3 separate regions of the Homo sapiens genome follow, and regions 2 and 3 are each linked to region 1. The links are contacts of gene promoters, found by promoter capture Hi-C in blood cells and fetal thymus (Javierre and others, 2016). All regions are on one chromosome and are shown on one strand. Each heading gives the region's core, a stretch centred on a gene start or on the middle of the fragment in contact. The rest is flanking DNA. Distances are from core to core; before and after follow the strand shown.

Evidence for each region. The method cuts DNA at HindIII sites, captures the fragments that hold promoters and counts their contacts. A CHiCAGO score of 5 or more calls a contact.
Region 2: the fragment with the promoter of UPP1 here is called in contact with the fragment with the promoter of ANKMY2 in region 1 in 1 of 17 cell types (non-activated CD4 T cells); the score reaches 8.8 in non-activated CD4 T cells.
Region 3: a contact is called between a fragment that was not itself captured here and the fragment with the promoter of ANKMY2 in region 1, in 1 of 17 cell types (non-activated CD4 T cells). The highest score is 9.0, in non-activated CD4 T cells.

Annotation. Positions count from the first base shown.
Region 1 is chr7:16,643,536-16,647,974 of GRCh38, forward strand. ANKMY2 (ankyrin repeat and MYND domain containing 2) reads right to left here and starts at 2,219. Exons shown (of 10, transcript NM_020319.3): 1 at 1,972-2,219. The coding sequence starts at 2,038. It overlaps BZW2 (basic leucine zipper and W2 domains 2), which reads left to right and starts at 2,646. Exons shown (of 12, transcript NM_014038.3): 1 at 2,646-2,753. RefSeq lists an enhancer at 2,346-2,625. The HindIII fragment of the contact is 5,140 bases long and covers 1-3,893 here.
Region 2 is chr7:48,087,138-48,091,576 of GRCh38, forward strand. It overlaps UPP1 (uridine phosphorylase 1), which reads left to right and starts at 2,128. Exons shown (of 9, transcript NM_003364.4): 1 at 2,128-2,281; 2 at 3,051-3,227. RefSeq lists enhancers at 1,131-1,660, 1,473-1,682, 2,193-2,722 and silencers at 1,823-2,162, 2,503-2,692. The HindIII fragment of the contact is 3,480 bases long and covers 128-3,607 here.
Region 3 is chr7:39,952,015-39,956,453 of GRCh38, forward strand. All of the region lies in intron 1 of CDK13 (cyclin dependent kinase 13), which reads left to right. Among named protein-coding and RNA genes, the nearest start is that of CDK13, 4.0 kb to the left of the region's middle. RefSeq lists an enhancer at 1-368. The HindIII fragment of the contact is 2,517 bases long and covers 394-2,910 here.

The DNA of each region.
Region 1 (4,439 bases), core at 969-3,468:
CATGCAACTTGATGCACCGTGTGAGCCCAGAAATATCACAGCACTAACCAGAATAAATGCACATTAATTCAGGTTTATATAATCTTCAAAATAAATACTGATGGACACCTGAGAATGTATCCAAGGAATCCCTTCTCCCCTCTCAAAGACTCAATTTATAAAACTGCTCACTATTTTTCACTTTTAAGAGATCACATGATGGGCCAGGCCCAGTGGCTCATGCCTGTAATCCCAGCACTTAGGGAGGCCGAGGCAGGAGGATCACTTGAGCCCAGGAGTTCGAGAGCAGCCTGGGCAACATAGGGAGACCCCCACCACCCCATCTCTACAAAAAAAAAAAAAAAATCTTTCTAAAGTAGCCGGGCATGGTGGCTCGCACCTGTAGTCCCAGCCACTAGGGAGGTGGAGGCTGCAGAGAGCTGCAACTCCAGCCTGGGTGAAGAGTGAGATCCTGTCTCAAACAAACGAGAGAGAGAGAGAAAGAGACAGCGAGAGCGAGAGAGAGAGAGGACATGTACTAGCTCTGTCCTGCCTAAAAGAATTTTTGTCCCTGGTGGATTGTGAATTGATCCTTTGTCTCCTTTTTGCCCAGCACAGTACCTGGCACACAGCTAGAACTTGCATGTTTGCTTAATTGAATCCCAGAGCCATCAAAGGCAGGGAGAAATTACCTAGAGACAGGAAGAACTGAAAGACTGAAATGCCAAATAGGTCAGCAAGAACCATGCAGTACAACAATCTAAACTCTAACCCAAATCCCCAAATTCCAGGCAAAGAACACATCATTGATAGATATAGCTGTGACTGACTTAGAATAGTTGAGATCAGATCGGGTGGGCTCAGCTCATCAGCACCTGTTGAGTTCAAACCGGAATTTTTTCTCCTTCGCATGTGGAGTTTCCTTGTCGCTATGAAGAATAAATCTGCCTTATTCTCTAGGATTCCACATTTCAGCCTGGCTACTAAGTAAATAAAACTGGAAACTGGGAAGCCTTATGCTGCAATGACTGGCATCTCTGCCATTCGAGGACAAACATGGCTATATTATTATTGAGTTTAAAATCACCACATTAATTGCCCGGAGTCGCACGCATCACCATCCCTGCACCGTGAGGGTGCAGAAGAAGCATGCAGTCACGCTGATGTCACCTGCCAGGTAACGGGACTCGGCAGGGAACTCCTCTGGGACGTCCACTCGGGGACTCCGGGGAAATATGGCTTCTGGCTCGTCCTCGGGGCTCCCCGCTGGGACTCAGCACTGCGGAAGTGGGGCACGCCTTGGGGGAGTGGACAAGAAAGCGCGAAGGAGCGCGATTAGAAGGTCTCATCTGTGCAACGTGGGCCGAGGGGTGGGTGTGGAGGCCTCGCCAATTTCCTTGTCTCTCTAGGGTTCCTGAGGCTGTCGGGGCTTCTGGAAGCCAGGGAGGCCCTGGATACGGAAGTCTCAATGCAGCAAATTACAGACCTAGTTCTGTACCCTTATGAAGAACCCCTCTCCCTAAGGGCGCCCTCCACTCCCAAGCGGGGGCGGGGATCGGCAAAGGATCCAGATCATTCGGCCTGCGGAAGTCTAAAGGGTCATTTAGACACCCGCCTAAGAACCTGAAACTACCAGGACTGACCGCGGTCAAAATCCCTCGGGAGCAGTGAAGAATTCACACACTGGGGTCCACACCCCGGGAAGCTCGCATTAACCTAAGGCGGGGCGTGGAAATCCGTACGTTTCCAAAAGCGGATTTAGAGGCCGAGCCTCTGTAACTACCCCTCTTGTCCCAGCACTGCTTCTGCCTCCCCACCTCTCCGCCCCTGCAACCTTTCCCAGACCAAAGGGAGAAACGCTCTTTCCCGGTTCCAGGCTGCAAACCTTGCAGAACCGCAGCCAAAGGTCACCCAGGCCAGGAGCGCCCCCCGGGCTCCGCCACGCCCCCCGGCCAGGCTGGCCGCGGCCGCGTCGCAGCCCAGCACCCGTACCTTTCCCGATGACTTCCAGTAGCTCCTTCTCCTCCTGGGTCAGCTCGCCTTTCTTTATGTGAACCATTGCTCCCGCCAGCTTGAAGGTTATTCCCTTTCTTAGGGAGTATTAAAAAAGAAACGATGCGTCTGTATTGGGAACGCCAGCCGCAATGAGGCAACTTGAGACCAAGACACTGAGTAGCCAACCGCGGAAACGCTTCGCTTCTCTCCTCCCTCCCGCGGGCTGGCGGACAGCGGGCGAGCTCGGGCGAGCCAGGCGGACGGTCTCCGCAGGCCCTGCGGCGGTCACCGCCTGCCGCCTGTCATTGGCCCTGCCGAGGAGGAGGAGCCGCAGGAGGCGGTAGCGAGAGATCGCCATTGGAGCAACCTGGGAGGACAAAACCAAATGCAGAAAGCTGGAGGGGGGAATTAAATTCCTCCTACACGTTCCGCTCCCCTATCCTGTCCGGTTCAAATATTTCGCCACATGTAATATTGAAAATTCTACAGCTGGCAGTTATGTGCTCAGCGACGGCTTTCTGGGGCATGCAGAGGCCCCAGGTTGTCGCCGTACCCCCACCATTCCCCCGGGAGTGGCGCAGTCTGGGCGGGGGCGGTCTAGGAGACGGGGGCGGTACGGGAGGCGGGGCTGCGCCGGGTTCCGTGTGTCTATGTCAATGTGTCTGTCCTTCACTCCTCCATTGTCTGCCGCCACTGCTGCTGCTGCTGCTGCTGCCGCTGCTGCTGCACGAATCGCCGCAGCCCCCAGCCTTGCGCGTCGTCGCTACCTCCTCGGACAGGTGAGAAGCAGCCCAGGTGAGGCAAGGGGCGCCGTGAGGGTTGCGAGAGTAGCGACTGCCGCCCCGCCGGGGTTTCCATCGGGCAGGAGCTGGCGGGGAGGAAGCATGTGCCTCCTGGGGCGGCTTCCTGCCTCGCGGTGGAGAAGCCCCCGCTCCACCTCATCATCACGGCGCGTACGGGGTATCAGTGCCCTGGGATGAAGACCTCCGACTCGCAACGTTTGGCCGCCTCGGGAGACCCTGGGACCGCGGGCGGGCGGGCGGGGGCCAGCCACGCGGTGGGAAGTGGCGGGTGCACATGGTCTCGTGCGTGGCACCGCCAGATGCGGCTCCCGGGGAGGCTGGGGCCGGGGCTCTGGGCTAGGTAGGGGTCGCAAGGACAGCGCCCCATTACTAGCGAGTCAGTGAGAACAGACTCGGGAGAAGGTAGTTTTTACGCTGGTGATCCTCGCCCTCCCCACTACTTGTCATCTCTTTGGCCTCTGTGGAAGCTGTAGAAGAAAACCTGATCGCCCAATGTTGCTTGTTAAAGATGTTTGGAAACAATTTACACTTGCACTAATACTTCGTTTATGAGAGACAGCCTGTGGGAGGGGGAAGGAAGGGCTTCTTTGCTCTGCTAGAGTTCTCGGTTCTCTTTGTAACTCAGATCTTGAGATTTATGGAAATAGGGAGTGGAGGGTGGGGAGGTTGGAGAGGGCGGAGATTAAATTGGTGTTGCTGCCTATATATAGCCTTAGATTAGCCTCTTAATCCAACCTTCATTCAACTGTAATATGTAGCCTGGAGCTTCGACCATAGGTAGATGGGGGTAAATACAAGTGTGTATTTCAGAATAAGATTTGCTTGCTAAAATGCGGGAATCAGTCATTTCTCCAGGGTGCAGATTTATATTTACATCATCAATGAAAGTTTCTTTGGAAATTAGTGTTTATGTTTTACTGTTGTTTCCCTACAGAGTAGTATTGATGTTTCTCTCAATATGTGTGTCAAAGAGACGTGTATGTGTCAAAGAGAAATATTTGAGTAATTATGTAGGTGGTTTTTGTTAAGCATCCCCAGGACCACTGTTTCTTCTCATAGCGCCATACGAAAAGCGAAATGCATTTTCCTCTGGCCTTAGGCATTTATTTTGCGTGAAGCTTTCACTAACATCTGAAATCTCCTGGAATATGTTTATCATTATTTCCTGCCTTTAGCAAAAATCTTTCCTAAACTCCAGCTGTTTTTCCCCCCTAAAGCTTCAGCATTAAAGACTGGGACAGATCTGAGCCAGAACATCTTACATGAAAATGGTTTGAAATTATTCATCTCAGTGTATAACAAAGATACTTTTGTTGGATGATGCTTTAATAATGATGTGGCTGTTCAAGCAAGTAGTAAGGCTCCTGAGAGTGACCAATCTTTTGTAATGCTGTTAGTTCAGAGTTACAATTGATTTATAACATAGTATCATGCGGAAGAAACCCACAAACCTAAAAAAACAGTTGAGTGGTAACCTCCTGGAACATGTGATTTAGCATCTTACCAGCAGATGCATACACATAATTGGGTACTTCATTGCTAGTATTTCCATCTCTTGTGCCAAATCTGGGCCATGGTTACTTGAAGGTCACACCTGTTTGTCTCACTGGGGTTGTCAGTTCCTCGAGGATAGCAGCTTACTATCTATTTTCTTGATGCCTT
Region 2 (4,439 bases), core at 878-3,377, about 31 Mb after region 1:
ACTCATGAATAATCCACCCTTATTTAGTATATGATCAAGAAATAACCATAAAAATAGCCAACCAGCAGCCCTAGAGGCTGCCCTGCCCATGGAATTGCCATTCTTTTATTCCTTTACTTTCTCAATAAGCTTGCTTCTTTCACTTTACTCTGTGGACTCACCCTGGCCCCGAATTCTTTCTTGCACAAGATCCAAGAACATTCTCTTGGGGTCTGGATTGGGACCCTTTTCCGGTAACAAAACTAAAACTAAGTTGTTAATCTACCTTCAGAGAGAGAGAATAGCAACTTCCTAACCAGGCCAGTTTCAGTCTTCAGTCTGAGGCAGCAAAATAGGGTCTGGAGGCAGGGAACATAAGGCCGATTCACACTTTAGCTATGACAGGAAATAGCCTCTGCGTAGGCCAAGTAAATGACTTTGTAACTTTGCATCATCCCTTTCATTTACATAGTGTGTGCCCCAAGCGGAGGACATTGAAACTCCCCAAAATTCTGGAATGGGGCCTTTGAGCCCCTACGCTCAGGCCCGCTCCCACACTGTGGAGTGTACTTTCATTTACCTTTTTTTTTTGAGATGGCGTCTCACTGTGTCACCAAGGCTGGAATGCAGTGGCATGATCTCAGCTCACTGCAACCTCTGCCACCCAGGTTCAAGTGGTTCTCCTGCCTCAGCCTCCCAAGTAGCTGGAATTACAGGCACCTGCCACTGTGACCGGCTAGGTTTTTTTTTTTGTTTTTTTTTTTTTTTTACTTTTAGTAGAGACGGGGTTTCACCATCTTGGTTAGGCTGGTCTTGAACTCCTGACTTTGTAATCCACCCGCCTCGGCCTCCCAAAGTGCTGGGATTACAGGTGTGAGCCACTGCGCCTGGCCGTACTTTCATTTTCAATAAAACCCTTAATTCCTTCCTTGATTTGTTTGTGTGTTTCACTCTTGTCACCCAGTATGGAGTGCAATGGCGCGATCTCGGCTCACTGCATCCTTCGCTGGGTTCAAGCAATTCTCCTGCCTCGGCCTGCCTAGTACCTGGGATTACAGGCACGCGACACCACGTCCAGCTAATTTTTTGTATTTTTAGTAGTGACGGGGTTTCACCATGTTGGGCAGGCTGGTCTCGAACTCCTGACCTCAGGTGATCCATCCGCCTCGGCCTTCCAAAGTGCTGGGATTACAGGCGTGAGCCACCACTCCCGGCCCAACCCCATGTTTTCTCAGGAACTGGAGTTCCCTTTAGGAAGCAAGTAACAGAGGTGCTGGGCTGCCCGGGCCTCTAGGTCGTCTTCTTTCCCAGGCTCTGTGCTCTCACCAGAGTGCGCGTTCGGGAAGCAGGGAGAGGACCAGGAAAGACGCCTGAGACGGAGAGTGGGCACCGGCCGGGGGCAGGCAGGTCCGGCCCCTGGGGGTCAGAGTGCAGCGCCGGTTTGAGGCAGTTCGGCCACTTAGCTGCGACTCGAAGTGAATGAGTCACTTCCCCTCCTCGGGCGAGCTCCTGGCTTTGCCCCAGCAAGCGGGAACTCCCAGGATCAGGAAGGTCCCAGAGAAACTCCCCAGGGGGGAAGCCGAGGCCGTCCAGAGAGATCCAGGGTACACACAGTGACAGTGCCAGCTCCACATTCCCGACCACCGGGCCAGGGCTGGTTCCACGCTGTCATTTCTCTCCGCTGGCCCCAGCCGCGGGGCCACCGCCAGACAGACAGACCGGGGATCCTGCCTGGCGGCGTGACCTTGGGTTAGTCCTAGAGCCGCTTCTAGCCCGGTTTCCTCCGCCCCAGGTTAGGACCACGTGGGTAAGAAGATTTCCTCTGTAGTAGGGGCTGTTTAATGAGTAACAGAACTGGCTGCTGGTTCTTTACAATTGCCCAGCTGCTCTGCAGAGGCGAGAAGCAATTGCGGGCTGAGCCTCCCGGGACCTTCGCGGGAGGGTGGAGAGGAGGAAGGCGGGGGAGGCGGGGCCAGAGGGGCAGAGGAAGGTGGGGGCGGGCGGGGCTTGTCTGCGGGATGGCCCAGGATGCGGTCAGCTGAGTTCGCCGGCCCAGGGCAGGCGGGGCCCGAGCCTAGCGGTAACCCCCGGGCAGGGCGGGGCCGCTCGCAGACTCCATATGAGATTCACCTCGCAGGTGGTTCCCTCATTCGAGTGCTCCGGCGCACAGACCCGCGCCCCGCCGTCTGCGAGCCTCCCGAGAGCCGTCCCTTCGTCCGGCCCTGGAGCATTGCGTTTGTCGCCGGTGTCGCAGTGCGAGGATGGCGCCGCGGGTGTAGCGGCTCTCTGCGCAGGCCGAGTGGTGAGTCGCCCGCGGCCCGGCTCCCGCCGTTCTCTCTTCCCAGGGGTCTAGCCCGTCCCCTGCCTTGGCCACGTGCCCATTTACCTGTAGGGGCGGTGACGGAGGCTCTGGTGCACCTTGGCTGTGAGCTGCAGAGGAGCAGAGAGCGGCCCGGCGCGGCTGCGCGGGGAGGCGGGCGCGCGGCCGGGAGGTTCTGGGGCTGGTGTGTGCGGAGCGAGGTGGGCGTGGGGGAAGCGCGCGGGCGGGATGTGCTTCCTCGGGTCCACCCCGTGCCTACCTCTCCCACGTCCCGGCGACGGAGCGCGCGGGGCTCTGGGCGGGGAGCCCACCGGGCCGAGGCGCAGCGAGGGTGAAGCCAGAGCCGGCAGGGTCAGGTCCCGCAGGGCGCAGGCGGGCGCTTCTCGCAGCCCAAACCCGGGCGGGGAGTGCGGGAACCCCTAGAACTATGCTGGGAGCCCCAGATAAGAGGAAGGAGATGGTGACTTAAGTGACGAAGTGATGTTTTGTCCCCACCGCCTTTTAAAGGGAGAAGGGGGTAAAATTTCATTTGGAGGATGATTGTTACGCGAGCTTTCAGAGTTCAGATGGCGTCAAGTGGCCATCGAGTCAACATTTAACAAAATGTTACCGCATAAAATATTGTCATCGAGTTATCTGGCAGCTCCGCAGAGAAACTTCACAGGCATATGCGTTATATGACATAATTTGCATGGGGAAGGGGGTCCCTTCACGATTCTTTTATATGGCAACCTGTTCTTGGACCTGGCAGGGCCCAGAGAAGCGAGGAACTCCGCAGCTCGTCGACACGTCTCGTCTCCTGTCCCAATTCAGGGCTTGGTGAGGTGACTCGCGGTCGCGGGTGACTCGCCGGCAGGACACTGCCTGGAACGCCTGGAGCGCCTCCCACTGCAGACGTCTGTCCGCCTCCAGCCGCTCTCCTCTGACGGTCAGTTTCAAAGAAACACAGTCTGGGATCCGGAGTAGAAAGAGGCCGTTTCCCGTGAAGGCCATAGAGGCAGTTTCCAGGCGCCTGGGTGACCTGTCTCTGCACTTCCCTCTCTGCTTCTCCATCCCTGTTTCCTTTCCCCACTGTCCCCTGCCTGGCCTTTCTTTGGCTCATTTTCTGCCTTCCTGGGGTCTTCTGGTTAAAAAGACCATTGGTTCCATTCATTGGCTGTAACCGCGGGTCTTTAAAAAACTTTGTGACTTCCTTGAATAGAAAGAATGTCTTACTCTGGATTTCTACAAGCGCTGCTGAGCCATTCCCAGGGCAGGCCTTTGTCTCTCCCGCCTTTCAGTTTGTTTGCCCATCTGCATTTTGGCCCAAGCTTTCCCCATTTCTCAGCTGCTCTTACATTATTTCTTTTTTCAGAGGCTACCCTGACCTTCTAGTCCTCTGCATTAAACCTCATCACCGCAGACCGTTTTAATTCAGCACAGGTGTATCGAGCACAAATTATATTCTTGGTTCCAATACTTTCAGCACTGGTGGGCATTCATGTTTCATTTAAGAAGGATAAATTAGTGTTTCTTTACATGGGCTTTTTGTCAAAGTGGAATTTTGTTGACTTTACTGATCTTAAAATTAACGCAAACTTATTGTAAAAACAAACAAACAAAAAAACCCAAAAACCAAAAATCAAATATATAACAGAAAATGAAACTTCTAGGTTTTCCTCTTCCCTAAAGATAAACAACAAACATTCTTCTTCCTTCTCCTCTCTCTCTCACACACATTTGCTTTTGAAATATGTTCATTCAAAAAAGTATTTTAAATGTTTACAAGCTAAGTTATTTATGCAAGTAACTTACCAATCTGATTTGAGTTTAACGGGTTAAAACTAAAAAAAAAAATCAAAAACATCTTCAGTTTTTTTTTTTTTTTAAGTAAGATGGATCTGGCTGGTAATAGGTAGAGAGCCCCAGGTGATCACCGAAAAGACTCTTCCTTGGGGAGCCAAATCCTAAGCCAGGTTTAGGATTTCCCTGGGAGGTAGAATTTGCAGCCCAGGTAAAACCAGCAAAACTCTCCTGTTATGTGGGGAGGGGAGCGAAGAGCATGGCTTTCTAGAGAGGTGAGAGAAGACTTGTTGAGAAACTGAATTTCATTTCCTTACGGAAGTTGGAGAACATTGTGGTACAATGTTAGGAGAAAGGT
Region 3 (4,439 bases), core at 402-2,901, about 23 Mb after region 1:
GACACTTTTTTAGGGGGTCGAAGGGACAAAGCAACTGGGCGAAGGGAACTTTTCTCCTAGCTGTGGCAGGGAAGATTTCTAAGGAAGAATTAAAAGTTTCAGACTTGTTGCATTAATGTGTTAACAGGTTTCTCTCAGTTGCTCTTTGCTTTTCTGGTACAATTTGGGTAAACCTAGAGGTGGTTTAAGTCTTAATTTTGAAAGTTCTGTGAAGAGGTTTCATTGTTGGGAATTTAGGAATGGACTGCAACTTAAGATCTAGTATTGTACAGGGGAATAAGAATCAGGTACTGATGTCAGAGTTAGATGTGGATTGCAGATGTTTCTTATGATTATTACAGAAATGGGAGAAGCAGCCTTTCTGTAAAGTTTATTCTTTTAGTATGTTAAAAAAGCTTAGGTGGAAGCCGATAGTTCTGAATACTGAAGTTAAAAAAGGTATCTATTTAGTGATATTCTTGTGTGGGATAGTTTTTACCTGATCTTTCAAAGTCATAATTATAGAAGGTAGAAAAAATGACAAGACTGTGGTTTCTTTGTTGGTTTGTGATGACACCCAGTTGCTAATAACATTATAAATCTGGGTGGTGTAACCTAGTGTAACCAAGTGAATGGCTGAGTACATTCTTATACTATTATAAGCCTGTAACTGCTTACTTTAAAAGCTAAGTAGACTTTTTCTTAGATATATACCCGAAGGATAAAAACACAATATAACTAGACCTTTAAATATCAGGATCTTTGTCCAGAAATCTTTAAAAGGTGTAATTTAATTTAATGAAATTGGAGTAAAACTTTTCTGTAGCTTTCTTGCCTTTTTTGTTATATAATATTCTTTTTAAAAAGTGTGCCTTAAAATATACTTATCCACTAAGCAAAGTGCATTAAAAACAACTTTCGAGTATTTTATGGGTTCTTATATTCCTTGAGATGTTTGGACATTCCAGACCTTATAGTGTAGAGTATTGCAAAATGACATTTGTATCAGTTTTTCCTCCTGGGTTTCAGTAATGGCAAGTGGATGTACAGTACCTCTAAGTATGGGTTATGTGGAATCTCAACATAATACGAATATGCATCTGCAAAATTAGCAGACCTTTTTGAAGTATCACCATAATAAATGTAAAGGTGTGATGTTTATAGAGATCTGAGCGTGAGTTTGTCTTTAAGCCAAAAAAGTTCTATAAATTGCTTCACTCTTAAAGAGTGTTGAAGCATACTTAAAATGTTAGTTGATACCTTAGCGAAGAATTGAAAAACTCATTCATCAAAATTAGCCATTGTATCTTGTAAGACTTTGTATGTTACTTTTAACTATAATACTTTGCCAAAGGGTTTGCAGTTTTTGCAGTTGAATTTGTTTTGCAAACTGGTTGGTTGAAGTTTCAGCACTTGAACAATTTAAAGTGCTTGATGCAATTTTAAGAATGGATTTTGTACTTATCAGGTTTTTTAGTTGCTGGATACTTCAGCGAGATCCTTTATTGTATAATAGTGGTATGTATTTTTTATATACATATATGAAATATATAATCGTGGTATGTATGACTAGGACTATTCATATTTAGCAAGTATTTTTTGACCCTGTATTGTATGCCATATACTGTTTTAGGTATTGGGATGTAGCAGGAAAGAAAAAGTTACTTGCCCTCATAGAGCTTGCATTCTGGAGGACCGTTCAACACATAATCTTTTCATGGTGTTTACATTGACCACCAGTATTTCTAAAGAGTTGAATTTGGAAGGAACTTTAGGGTGTCTTGGCTAACATTGCTGACAGATGGCCATTTGGTATGTGCCTGAAATACATCTAGAGGTGGGAAGCACGTTAGTTAGAGGCAACCTGTTCACTAGATTTGGGACTTGAGTGTTTTAGCAAGATCCTTGAAGACTCAGTTTCCTAAACTGTAACAGGGAAACACTTGTTTTTCTGGATTATTTCAAGGATTAAGTGAAAATTTATCTTTTTAAAGCATGCAGCCTTACAGAAATATTTAAGGTCGTTGAATTATTCAATATCCCAAATTGTTAGAATTCTTCATATTGTGACCAAAATCCACCTTCGAACCATTGCTCCAAGTTTAACCCTTTGGAATGGTACAGAGCACACGTGTATGCTAACCCTTTAAAATATAAAGACAGTTGTCATGATTTCTGAGTCTTCTAGACTAAAAAACTCATACGGTTTTCAGATTTTTCACATTATATCTAGTTTGTCAAATGTCCAGCTTAAAACATAGGGCCTAGAATTAATAGCTAAAATAGTTGATTGGAAAAATCTAAAGATTTTAAAATATAATAAGTGTATTGTTACTTTTTAGGAACGGTTAATTGAACTCACTTGTACAGATTAATGGAAAAGTTTTATTTATTTTCAGAATTTATTACTTGTGGTAAGTGGCCCATGTTCTTTAATGAATGGACTGCTGTGAGTTCCATGAAGGCAACTGGGCTGTCTTATCCATCATTGTATTTCTAGTGCTCAGCACTGTATCTGGCACAAGTACACTCTTAATAAATGTTGAATAGGTGTAAATGAAGGGATGCTGGAGTTTACTGAACATACAAAATATTAATGTGGGCTTTGTATTACAAACTTCATTCAAAATATTTAATACAGACCATGTGTAATGCTGTAAGAAACAGTGTAATATTTCCCCAGCCTATGCAGAACTTACATATTAATGAATTGTCAGCGTAGATATTTTCAAGGAAATGCATACACATTCAAAATAGTATTGAAATCGTGGTATGAAGATGAAAAACAATTTTAAATAAGCTGAAAATAGAGATAGGGTTTCACCATGTTGCCCAGGCTGGTGTCAAACTCCTGGGCTCAAATGATCCACCTGCTGCATCAGCCTCCCAAAGTCCAGGGATTACAGGTGTGAGCCACCACATCCAGCCTGAAGCTTTTTTTGATGTCAGATAAATAAATCCTTTTCATTTTAGTGATTTCCACTTCACAACTTGTTCTTTGTCTTCATTTGAATCTTCAGTCCTCGGCTCATGCATTTCTTTTCATCAGTTCCCTCTTAGCTTTACTTTTTCCCCTGTATAATCTGTTTGCCGTATTTTCTTTACTACTTGACTGTTGGGGTGTGGAAGGTCACGTAATCTTGCTGACTGGCCCTATAATAAATGTGAGGGTGTGCTGAAAAGAGGGGAGGGTACCGTTTGTAGTGTTTTACTGTGTGCCAGGCATTGATAAATATTTAACATATATTGACCACCAAAATCCATGTGATAGTTGGAAACATTCCCATTGATGGATTGGGAAACGGGAGCTCTAAAAGGTTTTAAGCGATTTGTTCCAAGGTCAGCTTGGATTCAAACCCTAGGCTGATTTGAAAGTACATGCTCTTAATATTAAAGAGCATGGATTTTGGTTACAATATGAAGGTGGATTTTGGTTACAATATGAAGAATTCTAACAGCAGTCTATTCATTAAAGAACATGGGCCACTTACCACTTAAAGCATATGCTTTATTGAAATTTAGTTGGCATTCAGGGGCGCTGGCCACCTCACATAATGACCTGTTTTGGTGAAAAATCAGCTTCTGCTTGGGTATTTATGTGTTGGTTTCTGTTCCTTGGCCATTTTATCAGCATTTTGAAGATTTTAAAAGATGAATCTTCTAAAGATTCTTTCAGCTTATTTGTGTTTATTTGTAGTTTTTATGAACAATTGGGTTTAAATCTTGTGGATGTTTTTCCTACTTTGTCTTTACAAAGATTGGCTAAAAACATTTCTTGAAGACATTAATTACTCTTAGTTATTGGTGGTGGTTTTCCAGAATTATTTTGATCTGAAGTTACTGATGTCAGATTAAAATCCGTGCAAGAAATTATTATGTGTGTTTTGTTCTTTCTCTAAACCTATGGAAGTTCCATTCCACCAAGAAGCACAGAAGCATTCATTATGGAATAATAAGAACCTAAGAATCTGAAAAAGATGGGTGGACTCTAAATATAAATAAGAAAAATTATTGTTATATGTGGTACCTCTGTAATGGATTATTTAGTGTTTTGTCCTGAAAACTATAGTTCAAAAGTATATGAAATGAAGATATTCCGTAATGAAAAAAAAACTCAAAAAATATGCCACTGATTTAATATATACTTAATAGAAATAAGTCATGAAAATCCCTAGGTGAATGGAATTCTTAAAATGCTTTTAAAAAGTGTCAAAAAATAGGATACTAGAACAAATGGAGAAACTCTCAGAAGGGAATGGAAGTTTAGGTTAACTGTCTTAAATTTCCAAAGCTGTAATCATTATTTTCATTCTCAAAGTGATGGCCTTGTGTTTTGCTCCTTCTCTGACCAAACTTCACCTGACATTTACATCTACTCAGTCCTTATCACATTTCTTTTCCGCTAACGCTAATATTTATTTCTTTCCATTTCTATCACCATTTCAGGTTAATTAGCTAGA